6 separate regions of the Homo sapiens genome follow, and all the other regions are linked to region 4. Evidence: promoter capture Hi-C in human tissues and cell types (Jung and others, 2019). All regions are on one chromosome and are shown on one strand. The core of a region is centred on a gene start or on the middle of the fragment in contact, and the rest is flanking DNA. Distances in the headings are between cores, read along the strand shown.

Region 1 (3,540 bases), core at 27-2,526, 460 kb before region 4:
CTTTGAAAAATATGTAAATCATTTTTGTCAGTTAACTAGGTCATTTGTCTTTTTTGACTCAAAACTGTCTTTAGGACCTGGGAACTATTGCTAGGAAATGCGAATAGCAAGAATATACACCCTATGCCACAGTTTCTGTAGGCGAGTAGGAGGCTGCCTTCAGCAGGTACCTGGCTCCACATTTCAAAACTATGTCCTATCATGAAGATATGGGAAGTGTTTGTTTTTTTGTTGTTGTTTGTTTTTAATATTACCAATTAGAAAACCCAGATGACCTCCCAAATTAGTTGACGTTATTATAAACTGTGTATGACAAATGGTGCTGTCATGTCTTGTACTTGAGTACTAACGGTGACGTTCTTTCTGTATTTGCAATCTATTAGTAGATTGCCTGTGATGTACATCATATTTTGGTTTAATTAAATAACAAATCATTATCTTGCTCTAATATTATTTTGGAGAGTATTTTAGGATTGGAGATGATTTTGCTTTTAGTTATATTTTCCAAACACTGTCCAGAATTACCAGATGGTATACACAAAGTGCCCACCAGGCTTCCCTTTAGAGAAAACCTTCCTTCTAAGGATTCCAGCCACAATCCACAATTTTGTGGCAAAGTGCAGCAAAGTGCTCCACAAATCTGCAAACAAAAAGGTTTCTCTATTTGGGATCTACAGTCATTTCTAGAGCAGTTAGACTATATTTCTACAAAAATAACTTTTCAGGACAGCCATCAGTTATTCCACTTCCGTGTGTGCTCCTGGCATCTTCAGATCTGACACTGGTTCAGACATCATGGGGCCCATACACCCAACCAGGATCACACATGTGCATTGATTAAACCTGATAACTTCAATTCTGTCCCTTCTCCCCTTGCCCAAATGCCCACAAATGTCCATAGCTCACCAGCCCTCCAGGACCTAAATGTGCAGTTCCAAATTCTGAATTTATGTCCTGGGATTTGAGAGAAAAACAGCACTTTTATCTGAGAAATACAAGTTCTTTTAATTATCAGACCCAGAGACTTGTTAAAATGAGACCACAGTCCTACTGTTCCCCTCTTTGAACTATTTGTTTTTTGAAATTCCTTGCTATTGCCATCAGTGGCTATAAAGTAACCTAATAATACCACAATGGACACTATAACCCACACTCTGTGGCTTAACATATATAGCCAGCCACTAACCAATTTTAATTCTATAAATCAATAGGAATGTCTAACAACTTTGTATCAGTCTCCTCTCTGCCTTCTTTTTTGCCTTTAAAAATACACTTGTAACTGCTTCTAATTGGAGTGTATATTCAGGGCAGCTATATACCCCAAGGTTGCAATCTTCAAGCTTTGGCCCAAATAAACTCTCTACTTATTTACCCCAGCTTTTTCCTTTTAGGTCGAAATATTCTTCAGAATGTGTTGAAGGAGCCTCCATGAGAGGCTCTCTCTGGTTTTACTCTGTTTGCTGTAATCCCCAAGAATGCAGAGGCGCATTGATCCCACCTAGCATCTGCACATAAAAGCTGGCTTCTGCCTAGGAGTCACAAGACAGGGCCAGATTTTGGGTTGAAGACATACAGAAAACTCACAGAAGGCATTTTCTGCATCATGAAAAGTCAACATAGTCTTCTTAAACCCCACTTTCAGAGTGGAGTCTTTGAGTTTTCCAGGTCTTGTCACCTGTGTGAGAGGCTTCTGGTGTGAACAGAATCCTGTGGCAGAATCTGTAGGTGTTAACACGCACCTTAGCAGTGAGAGGTCAGGGCCACAAAATATACAGAGCCATAATCACAACCATAATCACAAGTATGCCATCCTGTATACTGGGGTACTGGAGTACTTTCATCTTTCCTCTTGTCTCAGAGTTAGCTGATCAGGGACAGTGCACATCACATCTGGATCCAGGATCTGCAGCTCTACCAGGGCAGTTCTGTTTTCTGTTTGCACTCCACAAAGTCAGCCTCAGTCTCTCCTGCCTGGATCACTATGGGGGGCTTCAGCCCAGGGTCACTGAGGACACTCTCACCAGCATCAGTGAGTTATTTGAGACATTTGAGGATGTCCAAAGCAGACTGGGGTCAGTCTGACAAGAAAGTCTAATTCTGGTTCCATTTCAGAGAAAGAGAAATGACTTATCAAGGGTTTGTTCCTCCCCTCACAGAAAGAATCTCATTGGTTCATAACCAGATAAGAGTTGTTCCAGTTTTCTGGTTCTGGAGACTCAAACTGATTAATAAGCTAATTGCTTCTATTTTATATGGTCATTAGAAAAAGAGACGAAGCAGTTGTGGTCCCTCCCATCAAGGAACTTGCAGTCCAGAGCACATGAATAAATGGTTGAATTCAGCATCATGTGTTCAGTACAGAGACAGAAACTGCATAGGAAGCTTAAGCTTCATTTGCATTACTTCCCTTTTGTTATTTTGTAAGTTTTGATCCCTCCACCTGAAGGGCTATTCTGGACAGAAGAGAAGTTGTTATTATTTGTATTGTTTTTAGCTTGCTAAGAATAAGTATTTAGCTTCTAATATAATTGGTCTAGAAAAACATAAGGGTTTTGGTTAAATTCCTTCTTATTGTATGTTGTAATATAGACAGGGAAGTGTCTAAAATAGATTAAAATTACACAAACTCTGGGAATAAAATCTCTCTTGGGCAGGCTTAGGAAAAACAAAACTGAAAATATTTAGTGGCCTAGAGAGCAGAAGCCTAGGACCCACCTTCTATCCCAACCCTGCCCAGATCCACCCTCTGCTGAATCTTGTCCAGGTCTAATCCACACTGAAATCTCTCACAGAACTGCTTAGAGGAGATAAGAGTTTGGGGTGGCTACTCCTACTGCCTCTCCAGAGCTGGTGCTCCCAATTTCCTGAAACACAAAAGCAGATAAATGGGGAAAATCCTAGGAATTACGGGACACTTAGTACCCATCTCCCAGGATGTTATGAGAATTAACACACATACTGTGAGCCTCCCAGCAGAGTGCTCTGTGACATACTTCTGCACACATAGTACATGCTCCATAAAGATCACATTAATGCATGTGCACATGTTTTTCAAATGCAGACTTACTCAGACGTTTCCACCATCTCCAGCCTCTGTAACCTTTGAAGGGCCTGCAGAGAATGCCATGTTTCAGGATGACGATTGGTGGTCTTCAGATGAAAAGTATTTGTGTTGGGGTAAGGGACCCTGTGTGCTGTGCCTGCTTACTCTAGCTGAGTGGTACTATAATGGATCTAGGGGGAGGAATATCAGCATTAATAGGAGACTTGCTATAAGAAGCTATATAATTCATGGACCCTTTTCAAACCTGCAGAATTTTGTCACAGTGAGGCCTAGAATAGCAAATAATTTATACGCACATTGAAGCTTGAAAGCCAGTGCTTAGCTAAGTGACTCTCAGCTGAGTCTTCTAATAGTATCACATGGACTGTTTGAAGAGAAACAGTCACTTGTTCCCTCCCCACAGATCCTGTCTATTGTTCTGGGTGGAAACATCCCTGTTTTTTAAACTAAAACATGATTCTACAGTGAGGGCAGGG
Region 2 (3,640 bases), core at 178-2,677, 370 kb after region 4:
GGGCCTGTCACTGAGGAACCCTCGGTCCTGAAATGGGCAGCACCTGGCCATGGCAGGCTGCAGCCCACACCGTGGTCAGGGAGCCTGGCTGTAGGAGGCCTCATCTCCCAGGTGTGCCCAGGTTCTGCATTCCTGCCGCTCCCTCAGGCACCTCCCCAGCCTGGCAGGGCCTCACTGGCAGGAGGCGAGGGAGCCCGGTGCAGACACAGGCTTCCGGGCTCTGAGTCCTGACTTGGGTCTGAGGCTTCACGATCCCTTTTCTGCAAAGGTGTCACCTGGTGCTGTAGTTGTGTGTGGGGCTGGGGTTTCGTGTGTGTGTGTGTACATGTGCATGAGTGGGGATGTACACGTGTACTGGGGTTTCCATGCACGTGCGTCTGTGCACACTTGAGCAAGTGCACATGTGGGTGCTCTGTGTGTGTGCATGGCGTGTGCGTTCGTGTGTGTGTGTGTGTGTGGATGGCGTGTGTGTTCTCGTGTGTGTGTCCCTCACTTCCCTACTGCCTAGGGTCAGGGCAGTGCTCAGGGTCCTAGCACCCCTTGAACAATGGGGTGACCAGGACTGCAGAGGGGCACGTGGCAAGGGGGTCCCAGGCTGCCTCCGTCTGTCCACCCAGGCAGGGTGGGCTGCGGAGGGTGCTGGCAGGCAGGCTCCTGGTTGGCCTAGTGCCCCTGGGGAGCAGGCTCAGAGGTGCCGTGCACTCTTCCCACTGTGCTAAAGCTTTGGGGCCTGTAAGGATGTTCCTGCCATGCCAGGCCCCTCCCCAAGCTGGGGTCAGGGCCCGTGCCCACTGCCCGGCACAGGCCTCCCGCTGGCTGGCTGCTCTCCTTGGAGGGCAGAGAGCATTCTTCAGAGTGGCATGGTTGCCAGACCAAATGACAAAAGTGCCCACTGGGTAGACCGGAGACCCCAGGCTGGCAGCCCGGCTGCACCCCCAGTTTCACAGGAGGCACTTTAACGCCAAAAACATCTGGAAATTGTTCCAAGGACTGGATTCCAGCCTTCGCCTTTGGAAGCTCAGCTGCCCCTGTGGAGGGTGGGAGGGCCGCTGGTTCCACAGGGCTGGAGCTGGGGCCATGAGTTCCATGAGCAATTCGGCCTCATGGGTGGCAGGCCCACGGCCACCGCAGGGCTGGCGGCACCCGCTCCCCTCCTGCTGCTCCCGCCTGCTGGCGCTGGCCACTCGAGCCGCCGTGCCTCTGAGTGTGGCCCCTCCGATGGCCAGTCTTGAGGTGGTGAGGGTGGTCATTCTAGAACTGTGTGTGCATGTGTGTGTGTCGGTGCACATGTGTGCATGTAGGTGTGTGTGTGTGTGTGCTTAGCTGAGGCTGCACCCCCCGGGGGGAGGCGCTGGCGAGTGCACACACACACACACACACACACACACCCCTGCATGTGTGTGCTGGCGCCTGTCAGCTCCTCCCCCGGAGGTGCAGCCTCAGCTAAGCCACCTCCCCCAGCCCCACCGGAGCAGGCGAGGAGCCACGGAGGGACCTCAGGGGGTGACCCCAGCCCCTGGGGGTCATGTGAATGGGGCTCCACCCAGGCCAGGAATCCGGCAGCACTTTTGTTCCTTTTCACAAAAGGCGAGCACGACGCCCCGTCTTGCTCACCGCTCAGTGAGCGTTACAAACGTTTGCCAACACGCACCTCCCTCTGCGCTGCCTGGCTGCAGCCAGCCAGGAGTGTCCGTCGGCTTCCACAGCTCCACTCTGCAAAGAAAACAAACCCAACAGCAAGGATGTTCTCCTTGAATGCTCTGGGCCGTGCTCTCGAATCAGCAGCCAGCCTGTCCTCAAAGGGGTCTTGGCTCAGAAACATCCTATCGTGCATCGTTTTCTGCCAAGTTTCAGTCTAAGATGTAAAAGTGGAGAAACCAGAAGCACTGCAAGTGAAAATAGAATAAAGGGAGACATCCCGTGTGGGAGCAAAGTAAGAGAAGCAACCAGCACAGCGGGCAGGAGGGACACTGGTGCCGCCACACCCGAAGGAGCCGGGTATCCACACTCCCGCAAGCCCTACCTCCCCTGGGGGCCCCCACCCACCAGGCCACACTCCCCTGCTGGCAGGAAACATGGAGTCAGGACCAAGTCACCTGCACCTGGGGCCATAAGGAGCTGAGCAGCCACCAAAGACCACCGTCCTCCAAACCGTTCTCCAAGTCCAGGGTCCTGCTGCTCTCCTCAACTCCCTCAGCCTCCCCAAATACTGAGTCTGAGAGTGCCCCCCAGCAGGGACTGGGCAGAAGTTTACACACACACACACAGACACACCCACCCCCACACACCAACACACAGACAAATATACACCCACCCCCACCCAACCCCCACCAACCCACTTCCACACCTACACCCACACATGCACACACGCACATCTACACATGCACACCCACACACACACCGACACACACACCGACACACACACCTCCACATACACCCCCGCACACTGACACACCCACACACACACCGACACACACACCTCCACAAACACACCCCCCGCACACTGACACACACCCACCCCCACACACTGACACATCCACCCCCCACACCGACACACACCTACAGTGACACCCGCACACTGACACACACCCACTCCTGCACACTGACACCCACTCCTGCACACTGACACACACCCCCGCACAGACACACACCCACCCCCGCACACCGATACACACACCTACCCACACACCCACCCCACACACCAACACACACCCACCCATCCCCGCACACCGACACACAACCCACCCCCGCACACTGACACACACCCACCCACTCACCTCTGCACACTGACACACACCCACCCCACCGACACACACCCCTGCACACTGACACACCCACCCACCCCCACACTGACACACACACACCTACCCACACACCCACCCCCGCAGACACACACACACCGACCCCCACACACTGACACACACACATCTGCACAAGACACCCACCCACCCACCCCTGCACACTGACACACACATGCACACCCCCAACCCCTGCACACTGACACACACACACCCACACACCCACACCCACACACTGACACACACACCCACCACCGCACACCTACCCACACACGCGTACCCACCCACCCCCGCACACAACACACATGCACACCCCCCACCCCTGCACACTGACATACACACACCCACCCTTACATGCACCCACAGGCACACATATACACCCACATGCACACCCCATATACATGCGTGCACACATATATACACATACACATACACACACCTACATACACCACCTACATACACCTACACGCACACATACATGTACACACCTACATGCACACATATGCATGCATACACACATCTGCACACCAACATGCACGCGCACACACGTGTCCACTGGCACAGAGCAGTGATGCACAGACACATTTCCCAGGCTGCCTGAGACCTGGGTGGCCGCGTGTGGTGCTTTGTGGCTGGGGTGTGCCCTAAGGGGTCAGGAGGGGCTGGGCCACACCCCAAAGGGTCCACATACTGAGGACAAAGGGAGCTGTGGAGGACCTTGTCCAGGAGAGGCAGGCTTCCTGGGTGCGGTGTGCAGGCTGCATGGGGAGCAGGGCGTTGGTTTCCCCGACTGCAGCCACAGACTGAGTGTGTCCATCCCCACAGCTCCTGCCAATTCCAAC
Region 3 (3,684 bases), core at 518-3,017, 290 kb before region 4:
TTCTGTGAGTAGTTCTGCCATATTATTGAACTTGAGGAGGGTGTGGGCGCCCCTGGTTTGTAGGCGGGAGTTCAGAAATGAAGACGGGTGTCCAGAGGCAGGGACCGGTGCCTGCAGGGGGGCAACTGCGAGAAGAGCGCTGAGCTTGTGGGGTCTGCGCTGACTCTGGGTGGCGTCTTTAGTGAGTTGCTGGACACCGCTTTGGGGTTGGAGCATTGACTGGTGTTGAGCAAACTCCTCACGTTTTCTGTCAGAAGAAAGACAGGGCTGAGCCTGGGCTGGAGGGAGTAGCATGGTGTCTGCGGGAGGCGTGACTGGGTTCTGCACATGCGCAGTCCTGCTGGGCCCTGTCCTGTTCCTCCAGGTCTCCTCCGAGGGAGAGAGGGGACTGGAAACTTAGAGGAAAGGAGTTCTGAGAAACATCCTTCCTCACACCATGCTGCCAGCCCCCACCCAATGCTAACCCACTCCTGAGCCCACCCACTGGGCATTGGCATGGCCACACTCCTTCCAGGATAGGTTTCTACCCTCAGAAATTGTGCCCAATGGCAGCTTTGCTCCTACAGTTTTCTCCCAAGAACACACAAAGTGCCCAGAAGACTCCTGGCTCATCTCAACCCCAGATGTGTAGCAGGAATCTGCTTTCTTCACCACCCAGTCTTCTAGACCACCTGATCCTAATCTCCTCTGCCCTTATGGACTCAGGAATCAGTCAGAGTGTAGCCCTGCGTCGGCCTGCACTTATAGTACAAACCAGTGCTTTAGTCAGTCCTGCCTTGCCCCCACCCAAGGCTCTTGATGGCACCTTCCTCTCTTCTGCTCTTTCCTTCCCCACAAATCCTCTTTCCTGTGTTCACAGTGTGCCCAAGTCCATCCCTCAGGTGCCTACAAGAATTCAGACGTTAGTAAGTTCAAGACCATGCCTTTAGAACAGGCTGTTGTAGGACCAAATACAAATTAGAAGCTTAATGCTTTCTCTTTAGAGTGTGGGAAGAATTTTTGCTCTTCTCCCTTTTCTTAAAGCATTTAATTTGAAAACTTTTATATTTAAATATTTTCTCTGCTTCTTTGAAAAATATATAAATCATTTTTATCAGTTAACTAGGTCATTTGTCTTTTTCGACTGAAAATTGTCTTTATCTAGGATCTGGAAACTATTGTCTTGAAATGTAAATCGCAAGAGTCTATACACCCTATGCCACAGTTTTTGTAGGAAAGTAGGGGGCTGCCTTCAGCAGGTACCTGGCTCAACATTTCAAAACTACGTCTTACCATGAAGATGTGGGAAGTTTTTTTGTTGCTGTTGAATGTTACCAATTAGAAAACCCTGCTGGGACTACAGGCGCCCAGGTGACCTCTCAAATTACTAGGTGACATAAACTGTGTATGACAAATGGTGCTGTCATGTCTTGTACTTGAGAACTAATTACGGTGATGTTCTTTCTGTATTTGCAATCTATTAGTTGATTGCCTGTGATGCATATCATAGTTTGGTATAATTAAATAACAGAACATTTTCTTGCTGTTCTGTTATTGTGGGGAGTATTTTAGGATTAGAGATGATTTTGCTTTTAGTTATAGTTACCACACTGTTCAGAATTACCAGATTTATACATAAAGTGCCCACTAGGCCTCACTTGAGAGAAAACCTTTTTTCTAAGGATTCCAGTCACAATCCACAATTTTGTGGCAAAGTGCACAAAGTGTAGCAAAGTGCTCCTCAAAGCTGCAAAAAAAAAACAGCCGGGTGCAGTGGCTCACACCTTTAATCCCAGCACTTTGGGAGGCTGAGGTGGCCAGATCACGAGGTCAGGAGATTGAGACCATCCTGGCTAACACCGTGAAACCCTGCCTCTACTAAAAATATAAAAAATTAGCTGGGCGTGGTGGCAGGCACCTGTAGTCTCAGCTACAGGGGAGGCTGAGACAGGAGAATGGCATGAACCCGGGAGGCGGAGACTGCAGTGAGCCAAGGTCGCGAGACTGCACTCCAGCCTGGGCAAGTGCTGGTGAGAGTGAGACACCATCTCAAAAAAAAAAAAAATCTCTCTATTTGGGATCTCTATTTGGGAACAGTCACTTCTAAAGCAGTTAGACTAGATTTCTACAAAAATAACTTCTCAGGACAGCAATCAGTTATTCCATTTCTTTTAGCGCTCCTGGCATCTTTAGATCTGACACTGGTTCAGACATCATGGGGTCCATAAACCCAACCAGGATCACATAAGTGCATTAATTAAACCAGAGAACTTCAATTCTCTCTCTTCTCCCCTTGCCCAAATGCCCACAAATGTGCATAGCTTACCAGCCTTCCAAGACCTAAATGTGCAGTTCCAAATTCTAAATTAATATCCTGGGATTTGAGAAGAAAACGGCACTTTTGTCTGAGAAATACAAGTTCTTTTAATTATCAGACCCAGAGATTTGTTAAAATGAGACCGCAGTCCTACTTTTCCCCACGTTGAACTATTTATTTTTTGAAATTCCTTGCTATTGCTACCAGTGGCTATAAATTAACCTAATAATACCACAATGGACACTATAATGCACACCCTATGGCTTAACATATATATAGCCAGACACTAACCAGTGTTACTTCTATAAACCAATAGGAATGTCTGAGAACTTTCTATCAGTCCCCTCTCTGCCTTCTTTTTTGCCTTTAAAAATACACTTGTAACTGCTTCTAATTGGAGTGTATGTTCAGGGCAGCTTTATACTCCGGGCTTGCAGTCTTCAAGCTTTGGCCCAAATAAACTCTCTAGTTATGTTTACCCCAGCTTTTTCCTTTTAGGTCAAAATATTCTTCAGAATGTGTTGAAGGAGCCTCCATGAGAGGATCTCTCTGGTTTTACTCTGTTTGCTGTAATCCCCAAGAATGCAGAGGCACATTGATTCTGAGAGGAGAGACCCTCTCATATTGTTTTATATTGTTTCATACTCAGTAAAAACAACAAGGAAGTAAAATCAAAGACAGGCAGCCCGGCGCCAGGCCTCAGCCTGCCTGGCCTAAACCCAGTAGTTAAAAATCAACTTATGAATTAGAAGCCGATGTTATTCATAGATTCCAAACATTGTATAGAAGAACATTGTGAAACTCCCTGCCCTGTTCTGTTTGTTCCTGATCACCGGTGCATGCAGCCCCTGTCACATACCCCTTGCTTGCTCAAATCAATCACGACCCTTTCATGTGAAATCTTTGGTGTTGTGAACCCTTAGAAGGGACAGAAATTGTGCACTCAGGAAGCTCGGATTTTGAGACAGTAGCTGGCTGATGCTCCCAGCTGAATAAAGCCCTTCCTTCTACAACTCGGTGTCCGAGAGATTTTGTCTGTGGCTCGTCCTGCTACAATTCCACCTAGAATCTGCACATAAAAGCTGGCTTCTGCCTAGGATTCACAAGATAGTGCCAGACTTTGGGTTGAAGACATACAGAAAACTCACAGAAGGCATTTTCTGCATCATGAGAGGTCAACATAGACATCTTAAACCACACTTTCAGAGTGGAGCCCTTTGAGTTTTCCAGATCTTGTCTAGTCACCTGGTACAACTATGTGAGAGGCTTCTGGTGTGAACAGAATCCTGTGGCAGAATCTGTAAGTGTAAACAAGCACCTTAGCAGTGGGAGGTCAGGTCCACAAAATATCCAGAGCCATAATCACAACCATAATCACTAGTCTGCCA
Region 4 (3,407 bases), core at 190-2,689:
TGAACTCCTAACCTCAGGTGATCTGCCCGCCTTGGCCTCCCAAAGTGCTGGGATACAGGCATGAGCCACCACGCCTGGCCAGCTTCCCCATTTTTAAACAATCCGCATCTACTTAGCTCTGCTTAAATGTCCTCCTCCATTTTCCTTATCCCTGCACAAACCTGGGAGGGACAATCTATAAGAGCCAGTGTCACTCGTACCTTCTGCCAATTCTCTGGCAATCCGTTTCAGTTCATCCTGCTTCTTCTTCTCTTCTGCTGCTATCCTCCTCTCCTCTTCTGCCCGAGGTTTTAGGTAATCTGTTTGGCGGAATGCAGGAGAATAAAATTCACTGGAAATGCTGTACAAAAGGAACTGAGTCCACAGGTCAAGGTATCTTCAGCGACGCTGTAAACCAGACGCACCTGCTGTTCCCGCTCTTTATGTTAATGCGAGTCAACGCCTGACCTTCACCCTGACGAGTCCAACCCAGAGGCTACAGGGCCCCTGCTGCCCACCCGCTCACGCACTGGCTCACTCGTCCTCTGCGAACAGGGACTGCCTCCCATCAAGACCTCAGCACTCGAACAGCCATTTAGCACCCGTTTTCACCAAGAAGCAGCCGTTTTCGAGTCCCCCGCCCGGGCCTCAGAAGCCTGAGCTTTGGGTGAGCTGATTCCACTATCGGGGTCACGCTCGGTGGAGGACACGGTCCTGCAGCCTCGCATGCGTCCCAAGCCCCCTTCCAGAGCTGGAGTTCTCCAAATAGCACAGGAGCTCCACAGGAAAGCCGAGCAGACCCCGCCCCGGCCCCGCCCGCGGTCACTCACTGTAGCGCGTGGCTCCGTAGGCCACACCGAGGAACAGGGCGGAGTAGCGGCCGAGCTGCGAAAGAGGTTGGTCAGAGGCGGCGCGAAACGGGGCTCGCGGGACGGGGGTCGCGGGAGGAGGGGGGGCGGGGTCGCTGGGCAGAGGTCGCAGGAGGGGTGGGGGTCCGGTCGCCGGGCGAGGGTCACGGGGCGAGGATCATGGGGGCGGGGGCCGGGGGTCGCAGCCCGCGGGGTCGGAGCTGCGGGGCGGGACACGGGGGGGCCCAGAGCACTGGGCGGCGGCTGCAAAGCCTGGATCACCTTGATGAGCGGAGAGACCTGCACCGGTGGCACCATCTTGTCCCTGACCTCCGCACCGGAAGCACAACCTGCAGACGGAGCAGGATGCCGCACAAGCCAGCAAAGCCTTGGAGGCAAAGGCGGAGCTGGGCGCACGCATGCGCCGTCAGCGGCGAGAGAGCGGGGGGCCGCGCCCCCTGGCGACCGAAGGGTGACTGCGCGCCCCCGCGCGGCGGTGACGTCACGTGAGGCGCACGCGCACAAAGGCTGGGGAGTGCGCGGAGGATCATCGGCTGCGCCTGCGCAGTTGCTGCGTGAGGCGGGATCTGCGCCGAGTGGGCGGGGGGTTTCCTTTCCCCGCAGGGCTGGGGGTCCGCTGTTTCCCCGCGCTGCTGCCGAGGCCCCGCCGTCCGCGTCCTGGCCGTGTGTCCACACCCCAGACTGCGGGCCGGGGCGCACTCTGTCTTCTTGCGCGGAGCGTCGGAGGCCTGAGGTCAGGGCGGCTCGGGCGGGTCCAGCCCCGCGGACCGCGCCCACCCGAGGGTGGCCTGGGCAGGGACCTGGGGGTCCTGGGAGCGGAGTGTGAGCCGAGTGCAGGTGGCTCCCCGGGCAGGTCCTTCTCCTACAAGGCAGTAGTGTCTGTCGCCGGCCGGGCCGCGTTGGATTCCGCGGCCCGCGGGAGCATGGCCTCCAGGCCCCTCTTCCTGCGGCTGCTCTGCCCGGGAGCACGGGGCGCCCTTCATCCCGGAGCTGGAGCTTCCTCACCCCAGGATGCCCCATCACTTCTGTCCCGAAGAGGGGCTGGGATCTTCTTGGGAAGACCAGCCCCCAACAGAGGCTGCTCCCTGGGTCCCCCGACTCCAGGCCTCAGGACTCCACGGCTCCAAGGGCCTGCCCCGGCCCAGGCCTGGGGACCACTGAGCCCCACACTGGTCTTTGCTGGCCTCTGTCCACCTCCCGGTAGCTGTGTGTCTCCCACAGCTGCCCAGAGATGGGGCCTGCGGTGCCTATGCAGCCTCCCCGCTGTGCCCGAAGTGCTGACCCGCCAGCCCCATGGACACCAGGCTTGGAGTCTAGGCAGGAGCCTGGCACCCCCTCCACGTTCTGGGTCTTCCTGGCGGCAGCCATGCTGCCCGTGCTGGGCCACCCTCGGGCCCCCTTTGGCCCCATGCAGTAGTGACGCAAGGCCTCCTGTGTCCCCTCCTGGCCCTGCACTGCTACAGGCAGAAGCAACTGGAGAACTATGGCTCGGGTCTCGCTAAGGTGCAGCATCACAAACTCCAGGACTCTTGAAGCAAGCATGGGGAGGACCCGTGATCCTGGCGGCCTGGGCTACCTGTCCGGGCCTAAGTCGCCTCTGCCCCCTCTCCTGGCTTGCTCTGGGGTCCAGGGCCTGGGCCTCTCTGGCTGAGAAACTAGGAAGTCACTGGGCTCTGTTTCCTGAGCTGGGTATACCAAGGCCAGTCCTATAGGGCAGGGGTCCCCAACCCCCAGGTGCAGACCAGTACCAGCTTGTGGCCCGTTAGGAACCGGGCAGCACAGGACGAGGTGAGGGAGCATGATTGCCCGAGCTCCACCCACTTTCAGATCAGCCTGGGCATCAGATTCCCATAGGAGCGTGAACCCTACTGTGAGCTGCGCACTTGGATCTGGATTGCGCTCTGGTGAGAATCTAATGCCTGATGAACTGAGGTGGAATAGTTTCATCCCGAAACCTTCCTCCCCAACACGGAAAAACTGTCCTCCGTGAAACCTGTCCCAGGCGCCAAAAAGGTTAGGTACTTGCTGTAGGGCCACCTGATCTTTTCTCCAGCTTCTGTGAGGTTGGCTGGCAGTCCCTGAAGACTCCTGCCTGAGGCCTCTGCCTGAACCCTGTCCTCAGGGGGCCAGAAGCAAACTCCAGCCCTCCCCGTGTCTACTGCTCGCTGAGGAAGCCGCAGGTGCACACTGGATCCACAAGGCACAGAACCATCTTGGCCCTCGGCAAGCCCCCGCTTCCGCCAGGGCAGACGGCCTCAGGTGACAATGGGTTTTCCCTTCACTGGAGTTTAAAATAATCCAGACTCCTCAGCAACTCCTGCTTCCAGAATCAAAAATAAGTGTCTCTGGGGCCCAAGGTAGGGGGTGAGGGGGACATACCAGCAGCTTCCACCAGAGGTGGGGCGGGGCAGGGCACCAGCAGAGAAAACATGCGGGCAAACACACACGGCCTGGGGAAAACCCCCTGAAGCCAATGGAGACTTGCCTTTGCTCAAGGCCTTTCCTGAGAGCTTAGTGGTGGGACGGGTCCCACCTGGCTCAGCACACCGCCCGCAGGGG
Region 5 (3,594 bases), core at 408-2,907, 300 kb before region 4:
TTGGGGTATTGAAATATCCTACTACAATTACATTGCTCCCTATATCTTGCTTTAATTCTGTCAGTATTTGCTTTGTATATTTTGAACCCTAGTGTAAGATACACACACACACACACACTCACACACACACATTAATATATGTATACCCACATTTATCATGGGTTCTAAGTAAATGAACTTGTTTATTATTGTTTAATGTCTTCCTTTGCCCCTTATGAGCTTTTAGTTAAAGTATATTTTATGAAATAGAGTTTTTGACTTAAGATGTACTTTGTGTTATATAACTTGGACCTGTTCTCCTCTTATTTGGTTATTTCCATGAAATGTCTTCTTTCATCTTGCCTTTTTCAGTCTCCTTTAATCATTAGACCTCAAGTGACTCTTGTAGAAAAACAAGTTGGATCTTGTTTTTTAATTTTTGCAATCAGTCCCTTTATTTGGTGCATGTATTTTGAATGGAAAGTTTACTTCATAAATATTTGAATAATTTGCTGAAATAGAAAGGCTTACCTGTTTTATAAATTGTTTTACTGGATTATTTTATCTCTGTCCCTTATTTTCTTTTTCTGTCTTCCTGTTTGTCTTTTAGATTTTTGTGTTGATAGGACTTTACTTCTTATACTTTTGTGTATCTATACCTTTGTGGTATCTTGGGAATTCTGAAAAATTTCTTAAAGAGATATATATATATATATATATATATATATTTTTTTTTTTTTTTTTTTTGAGAGGGAGTCTCACTGTGTCGCCCAGGCTGAAGTGCAATGGCATGATCTCAGCTCACTGCAACTTCTGCCTCTTGGGTTCAAGCGATTCTCCTGCCTCAGCCTCCTGAGTAGCTGGGACTACAGGCACACGCCACCATGCCCAGCTAATTTTTGTATTTTTAGTAGAGACGGGGTTTCACCATGTTGGCCAGGATGATCTCGATCTCCTGACCTCGTGATCCACCTGCCTCAGCCGCTCAAAGTGCTGGGATCACAGGCATGAGCCACTGGGCCTGGCCAAAATAATATATTTTAAACTCTTAAAAATGTAACTTGAATTGCATTTGAAAATTCTTCCTCTTTACATCTGCCCTGAATGTTGTTATTGATGTCACTAATCATATTTTTTTGCTGTATATTTATTACCAGATTATGATGAATAGTTTATAATCATTTTTATGCTTTTATCCTTTAAATTTTAGAGAAAAACTTTTTTGCACTATTATAATGATACAGAACTTTATATTTGTGTTTGTGCATATGTTTTTCAGAAAGTTATGTATTTTCATATCATCATATTTTTTTTCTTGCATCCTGTTATTTTCAATGGAAGATAGTTCAGCATTTTTTTTTATAAGGCAGGTGTTGTGCTAATATACTTTTCAGCATTTGGTTATCTTGAAAGGCCTTTACTTTTTCTTCATTTTTAGGACTGTTTTACTGGTTATATTATTCCTACTTAGAAGCTATTTTTCCTTCAGCACGTTAACTATATCGCAACTTTCTCTTGTCTGAAAAAATGTTGACAGATTCACTTGTTATCTTATAAGAGCATACTTACAAATCACACATCACTTTTATCTTGCCGCTTCTAAGATTCCATTTTTGCCTTTGACTTTTAAAACTTTGCTTATTATGTGCTTTGTTATAAATCTCCTTGTATATCCTAGTTGAAGTTTGTTGAGCTCCTTCTTTTTTTTTTGAAATGAAAGTCTTGCTCTGTTGCCCAGGCTGGAATGCAGTGGCACAATCTTGGCTCACTGCAAGCTCCGCCTCCCAGGTTCACACCATTCTCCTGCCTCAGCCTCCCGCATAGCTGGGACTACAGGTGCCCACCACCACGCCCAGCTAATTTTTTTTGTATTTTTAGTAGAGACAGGGTTTCACCGTGTTAGCCAGGATGGTCTCACTCTCCTGACCTCCTGATCCACCAGCCTCGGCCTCTCAAAGTGCTGGGATTACAGGCATGAGCCACCATGCCTGGCCACATCTTTTTTTAACTTTTGAAAATTTCTCAGGCATTATTTTTGTATTTTTCACCTCCATGTTTTTTATATTTTTAATGTTTTCATTTATATATATATATATATTTTAATTATATTTAGTTTTGTTACCATTTAGCTCATTGAGTTTTATTCAGGTCAAATTTTAAAACTTTGTACATCTTCATTTTTAATTTTTGTTCTGGAATTTTTTTTTTTTTTGAGATGGAGTCTCATTCTGTCACCCAGGCTGGAGTGCAATGGTGCAATCTTGGCTCACTGCAACCTCCACCTCCCGGGTTCAAGCAATTCTCCTGCCTCAGCCTTCCGAGTAGCTGGGACTACAGGCATGGGCCACCATGCCCAGCACATTTTTGTAGTTTTAGTAGAGACAGAGTTTCACCATTTGGGCCAGGATGTTTTCAATCTCTTGACCTCGTGATCTGCCCTCCTCGGCCTCCCAAAGTGCTGGGATTACAGGCATGAGCCACCATGCCTCACCTTTTGTGATAATTTGTGTGTGTGTGTGTGTGTCAGAGTCTCGCTGTGTCTCCCAGGCTGGAGTGCAGTGGCATGATCTCGGCTCACTGCAAGCTTTGCCTCCTGTGTTTACGCCATTCTCCTGCCTCAGCCTCCCGCATAGCTAGGACTACAGGCACCCATCACCACGTCTGGCTAGTTTTTTTGTATTTTTAGTAGGGACGGTGATTCACCATGTTAGCCAAGATGGTCTCTATCTCCTGACCTCGTGATCCACCCGCCTCAGCCTCCCAAAGTGCTGGGATTACAGGTGTGAGCCACCATGCCCGTTCCCTTTTCTGAAAATTTTTAAATTGTTGGACTGTGTTGTTCTAATATTTTGTATACATTGTCATGTTTGGTTGTTATTTGTACATTAACAAAAAGCTATTTGTCACAATCTTTACAATGTAGCTTTTTCCTGACATAGTCTGAAACCAATTGTCCTTGATAGAGATTATGGTAACCTCTCATACATGTTCTAAGGATGTGTCCTCTCTGGAATTTTGTGTTTATTTTTCAGTTAAAAGGGTTTGTTCATGTTTCTTCTTAACAGTCTCTAATCACTTGTTCTACGTGTTGCCTGTATTTAGCACTGCAGTCTGCTCCTGAAACATTTACATTTGCTTTCAGCAGACCCAATCCCTCCCAAAGTGTATCACCATTTCTATCAGCACTCTGTGGTATTGGAGACAGAAACCAGGTTTTGTAAAGACACTCAAAAGCCAGAAGTAAGGATATGTGTATCAGTATTTTTCTTCTCTTTAAAGGAAGAAGCCAGGAGTTGATACTTCACTCCTAATGGCACAGTGCTATATTGGGGAGGAGGAAGAGCTGTTGGTGGGTAAATGTAACAAACATTCCTTCCTGTTCTATGTGGCTCTTGGCATTTTGCTTACCTGAGGCATTGCATACAATTAACTCATTTATAGATTTCACAGAAAGGTGTCTTTGTTAGTATATGTTTGCTACATGTATATGTCTGTGAAGAAGTTATGGCCTGTGGGATTTTGTTATGCCATCTTACTAATGTATTTTGAATAATTTCATAAGATTTGTAAAGTATATTTATATGAATCTACTAAGTGGGATAATTTGTAATTTTT
Region 6 (3,723 bases), core at 356-2,855, 320 kb before region 4:
GCCTGGGGGAATGTAGAGTTTGTGAATTTGTGATATCTAAGAGGGAGCATCTTCAAAATCATAGTGAAAAGGGTATTTCTTTGCAATAAGCGTTTCTTGCGGATCACAAAGGATTGGAGAGACCTTAGTCATAGCTATTTACCAAGATTCACTACCCACCTCATCTTTTCCCCCACTTTCCTTTGTCCTATACATTTTTTCCCTTTGGCTTTTACTGAGCTGTATTCAATATAATAACCTGGAAAACATATAAATCGTTTTTGCTAAGTTCTGTGAGTAGTTTTATCAAATTATTAAATTTGAGGGAGGGAGTTAGGGAAGCCCATGATTTATAGTCAGTTGCTCAGAAGTGTAGGTGGGCCCCTGGAGTTTGTGACTGGCATGTGCAGCGGAAGCAGTGTTGTGGAACTGGGTCTGAACTTGTGGGGTCTGTGCTGACCCTGGGTGTTGTCAGAATTGAGTTGTTGGGCACCCAGTTTGTGTTGGAGGATTGGTTGGTGTTCAGCAAACTCCATATATTTGGTGTTGGAATAAAGATAATCAGGCTGGATGTGGTGGCTCACGCCTGTAATCCTAGCACTTTGGAAGGACGAGGAGTGCAGATGGCTTGAGGTCAGGAATTCAGCACCAGCCTGGGCAACCTGGTGAAATCCCACCTCTACCAAAAATACAGAAAGTTAGCCAGGCATGGTGGCACGAACTTGTATTCCCAGCTACTTGGGGGACTGAGTCTGGAGGATTGCTTGAACCCTCAGAGGTCAAGGCTGCTGTGACCTGAGATCATGCCAGTGCACTCCAGCCTGAGTGACAAAGTGAGACCCTGTCTAAAAAAAAAAAAAATCACAGCAGACTTGGTCAGAAGGAGATGGTGGGTCTGTTGAAGAATGGAGAGTTTATTAATTTATTATTATTATTATTATTTTTTTTTTTTTGGAGACAGAGTCTCACTCTCGTCCAGGCTGGAGTGCAGTGGCGAGATCTCGGCTCACTGCAACCTCCACCTCCTGAATTCAAGTGATTTTCCTGCCTCAGCCTCTCAAGTAGCTGGGACTACAGGTGTGTGCCACCATGCCTGGCTAATTTTTTGTATTTTTAGTAGAGACGAGGTTTCACCATGTTGGCCAGGCTAGTCTGGAACTCCTGACCTCAGGTGATCCCTCCACCTTGGCCTCCCAAAATGCTAGGATTACAAGCATGAGCCACCACTCCCCGCTGAGAGTTTTACTTCTTTTGCACACAAGTTGTCACAGTTAGGTGTAATGTGATTCTACGTCTCCTCCATAGGGGACTGAGGACTTAAAGGGAAGGACTTCTGAGGGCAGACTCTTCTCTCCACCTGCTGCTACAATGTGATTTCTGCTCATTCACACACATGCACGCTAAGCAATGGTATGGCCGTGCTTCTCTCATGACAAAGCTTCACTCAGGAATTGTGCTGAGAGCACCTCTGCTTCTAGGGTTTTCCACTAATAGGCTACATAAGTGCCCAGAAGACTCATGGGCTCTTTCTACCTGCCAGATCTTGAATCTGCACCAGTAACCTGTTTTCTCCAGTAGAATAGGCTTCTGGATCACCTGACCATCTCATCTCCCTGTATGCACACATTTATAAGTCAGAGGTGCCCTGCCTGGGTGAATATCTAGAGCACTAACCAGTCCTTTTACCAACTGTGCACTGATCCTCACCCATGGTTCTTGATAGCACCTTTTCTTATTCTGCATTTTCCCCCCACAGACCCTCTCTCATGTGAACACAGCATGCCCAAGGTCACCCTGCAGGTGCCTAAGTCCAGGGCCTGCTGGAAATCAGGTTTCTATGAGTTCAAGGCAAAGTTTTTGGGTGTGGTTATTGTAAATGTAAATGCAAAATAGAAATAAGAGGCTTAATCCTCACATTGGAAAATAAAGAGTATTTACTCTCCTCCCTTTTCTTAAAACCTTTGATTTAGAAAACTTTTATATGTAAATTCTTTCTGTGCCTTTTATCTTTTTTGTTGTCTTTTAATTCTCTAATTTGTTTCTGGTCTGATTTTTGTTATTTTGTTTATTATGCTAACATTGGGATTATTTAGTTATTTTTCAAGTTTTTGAGGATTAAAGTTGGTTTATTTGAGATTTTTAAAATATAAAATATATTACTATAAAATTCCCAGAACTGCTTTTGTTACATTCATTTTTATATATTATGATTCTATTTTCATTTTTCTCAAATACTTTATGATTTCCTTTTACCTTCTTTGACCCATTGGTTGTTCAGAAGCATGTTGTTTAATATCCATTTATTTGTAAGTTTTAAAATTTCCTTCCGGTGTTGATTTCTAGTTTTATAAAATTGTGATTTAAAAACTTGATATGATTTCAGTCTGTTTAAAAATGAAAAGACTTGTTTATTTTTGTTGTGGGCCAGATTTATGACAGGTCTTGGAGAGTGTTCCATGTGTGTTTGAGAAGAATATAAATTATACTGTTACTATCATATTTGTTTTTTTCTCCAGTTTAGTTAACATATGTTTATATATTTGTGTGCTCCAATATTGGATACATAAATATTTTTAATCGTTATATTCTTTTGACAAATTAGCCTCATCACTATATAATGAAGTTTTTTTAATGACGAATTTTTTTCTTTATTTTATTTTATTTATTTATTTATTTATTTTTTGAGACAGTCTCACTCCGTCACCCAGGCTGGAGTGCAGTGGTGCAATCTTGGTTCACCACAACCTCGGTTCACCACAACCTCTGCCTCCCAGGTTCAAGCAATTCACCTGCCTCAGCCTCCCTAGTAGCTGGGATTACAGGTGCCCACCATCACGTCTGGCTAATTTTTGTATTTTTAGTAGAGACAGGGTTTCACCATGTTGGCCAGGCTGGTCTCGAACTCCTGATTGCAGGTGATTCTGCTGCCTGGGCCTCCCAAAGTGTTGGGATTACAGGTATGAGCCATCGTGCCCAGCTATGACAGATTTTTTTCTAGATGTCTATTTAGTCTCATATAAATATAGGCATTCCTACACTTTTTAAGTTATTATTGGCATGGAATATTCTTTTCATTTTTGAATCGTTAACCTATGTATTTCCTTAAATCTACAGTAAGTCTCTAGTTTGCAGCATATTGTTGATTTTTAAAATCGATTCAGACATTCTGTGAATGTTTTAGATTGTTTTTTGCTTAATAACAATATTCTAGGGTTGGTAATTTATAAAGAATAGAAGTTTACTTAGCTCACAATCCTGGATGCTGAGATGTCCGAGAGCATGTCATTCCCACCTCATGAGAATCACATTTCCACATCACAACATGACCAAAGTCTTGAGGATGATGGAAGGTGTACACCAGAGCTCACTTTTGTAATAGACCCACTCTCATGATGACTAACGCACTCTTAGAATTATAATACTAGGCTGGGCACAGTGGCTTACACCTGTAATCCCGGCACTTTGGGAGGCTGAGGCGGGTGGATCACAGGTCACGAGTTTGAGACCAGCCTGGCCAAGATAGTGAAACCCCCATCTCTACTAAAATGACAAAAACTAGCCGGGTGCGGTGGCGGCTGCCTGTAATCCCAGCTACTCAGGAGGCTGAGGCAGGAGAATCTCTTGAACCTGGGAGGCAGAGGTTGCAGTGAGCCGAGATCATGCCACCGCACTCCAGCCTGGGTGACACAGCAAGGCTCCGTCTCAAAAAAAAAAAAAAAAGAATAATACTATTAATCCTTTCAT

Evidence for each region. Contacts are between HindIII fragments. The study calls those that stand out against the background at their distance.
Region 1: a fragment that was not itself captured here is called in contact with the fragment with the promoter of MYL5 in region 4 in 1 of the 25 tissues and cell types used here (dorsolateral prefrontal cortex).
Region 2: a fragment that was not itself captured here is called in contact with the fragment with the promoter of MYL5 in region 4 in 1 of the 25 tissues and cell types used here (IMR-90 fibroblasts).
Region 3: a contact is called between a fragment that was not itself captured here and the fragment with the promoter of MYL5 in region 4, in 2 of the 25 tissues and cell types used here (dorsolateral prefrontal cortex and lymphoblastoid cells).
Region 5: a contact is called between a fragment that was not itself captured here and the fragment with the promoter of MYL5 in region 4, in 1 of the 25 tissues and cell types used here (lymphoblastoid cells).
Region 6: a contact is called between a fragment that was not itself captured here and the fragment with the promoter of MYL5 in region 4, in 1 of the 25 tissues and cell types used here (lymphoblastoid cells).

The regions. Positions count from the first base shown.
Region 1 is chr4:214,500-218,039 of GRCh38, forward strand. It overlaps the pseudogene ZNF876P. Among named protein-coding and RNA genes, the nearest start is that of ZNF732, 89 kb to the right of the region's middle. The HindIII fragment of the contact is 3,201 bases long and covers 1-2,877 here.
Region 2 is chr4:1,040,072-1,043,711 of GRCh38, forward strand. All of the region lies in intron 1 of LOC105374343 (a long non-coding RNA gene), which reads left to right. Among named protein-coding and RNA genes, the nearest start is that of FGFRL1, 30 kb to the left of the region's middle. RefSeq lists silencers at 1,269-1,467, 1,848-2,029. The HindIII fragment of the contact is 9,265 bases long and covers 1-3,640 here.
Region 3 is chr4:386,931-390,614 of GRCh38, forward strand. No RefSeq gene overlaps it. Among named protein-coding and RNA genes, the nearest start is that of MIR571, 39 kb to the left of the region's middle. The HindIII fragment of the contact is 3,449 bases long and covers 44-3,492 here.
Region 4 is chr4:673,103-676,509 of GRCh38, forward strand. MYL5 (myosin light chain 5) reads left to right here and starts at 1,440. Exons shown (of 9, transcript NM_002477.2): 1 at 1,440-1,581; 2 at 2,971-3,107. It overlaps ATP5ME (ATP synthase membrane subunit e), which reads right to left and starts at 1,174. Exons shown (of 4, transcript NM_007100.4): 1 at 1,110-1,174; 2 at 810-864; 3 at 201-299. The coding sequence starts at 1,145. RefSeq lists enhancers at 1,306-2,063, 1,941-2,010 and a silencer at 1,461-1,730. The HindIII fragment of the contact is 2,744 bases long and covers 1-1,713 here.
Region 5 is chr4:369,059-372,652 of GRCh38, forward strand. The region is part of intron 3 of ZNF141 (zinc finger protein 141); the gene reads left to right. Among named protein-coding and RNA genes, the nearest start is that of MIR571, 21 kb to the left of the region's middle. The HindIII fragment of the contact is 3,666 bases long and covers 1-3,490 here.
Region 6 is chr4:352,548-356,270 of GRCh38, forward strand. The region is part of intron 3 of ZNF141 (zinc finger protein 141); the gene reads left to right. Among named protein-coding and RNA genes, the nearest start is that of MIR571, 4.3 kb to the left of the region's middle. The HindIII fragment of the contact is 3,181 bases long and covers 16-3,196 here.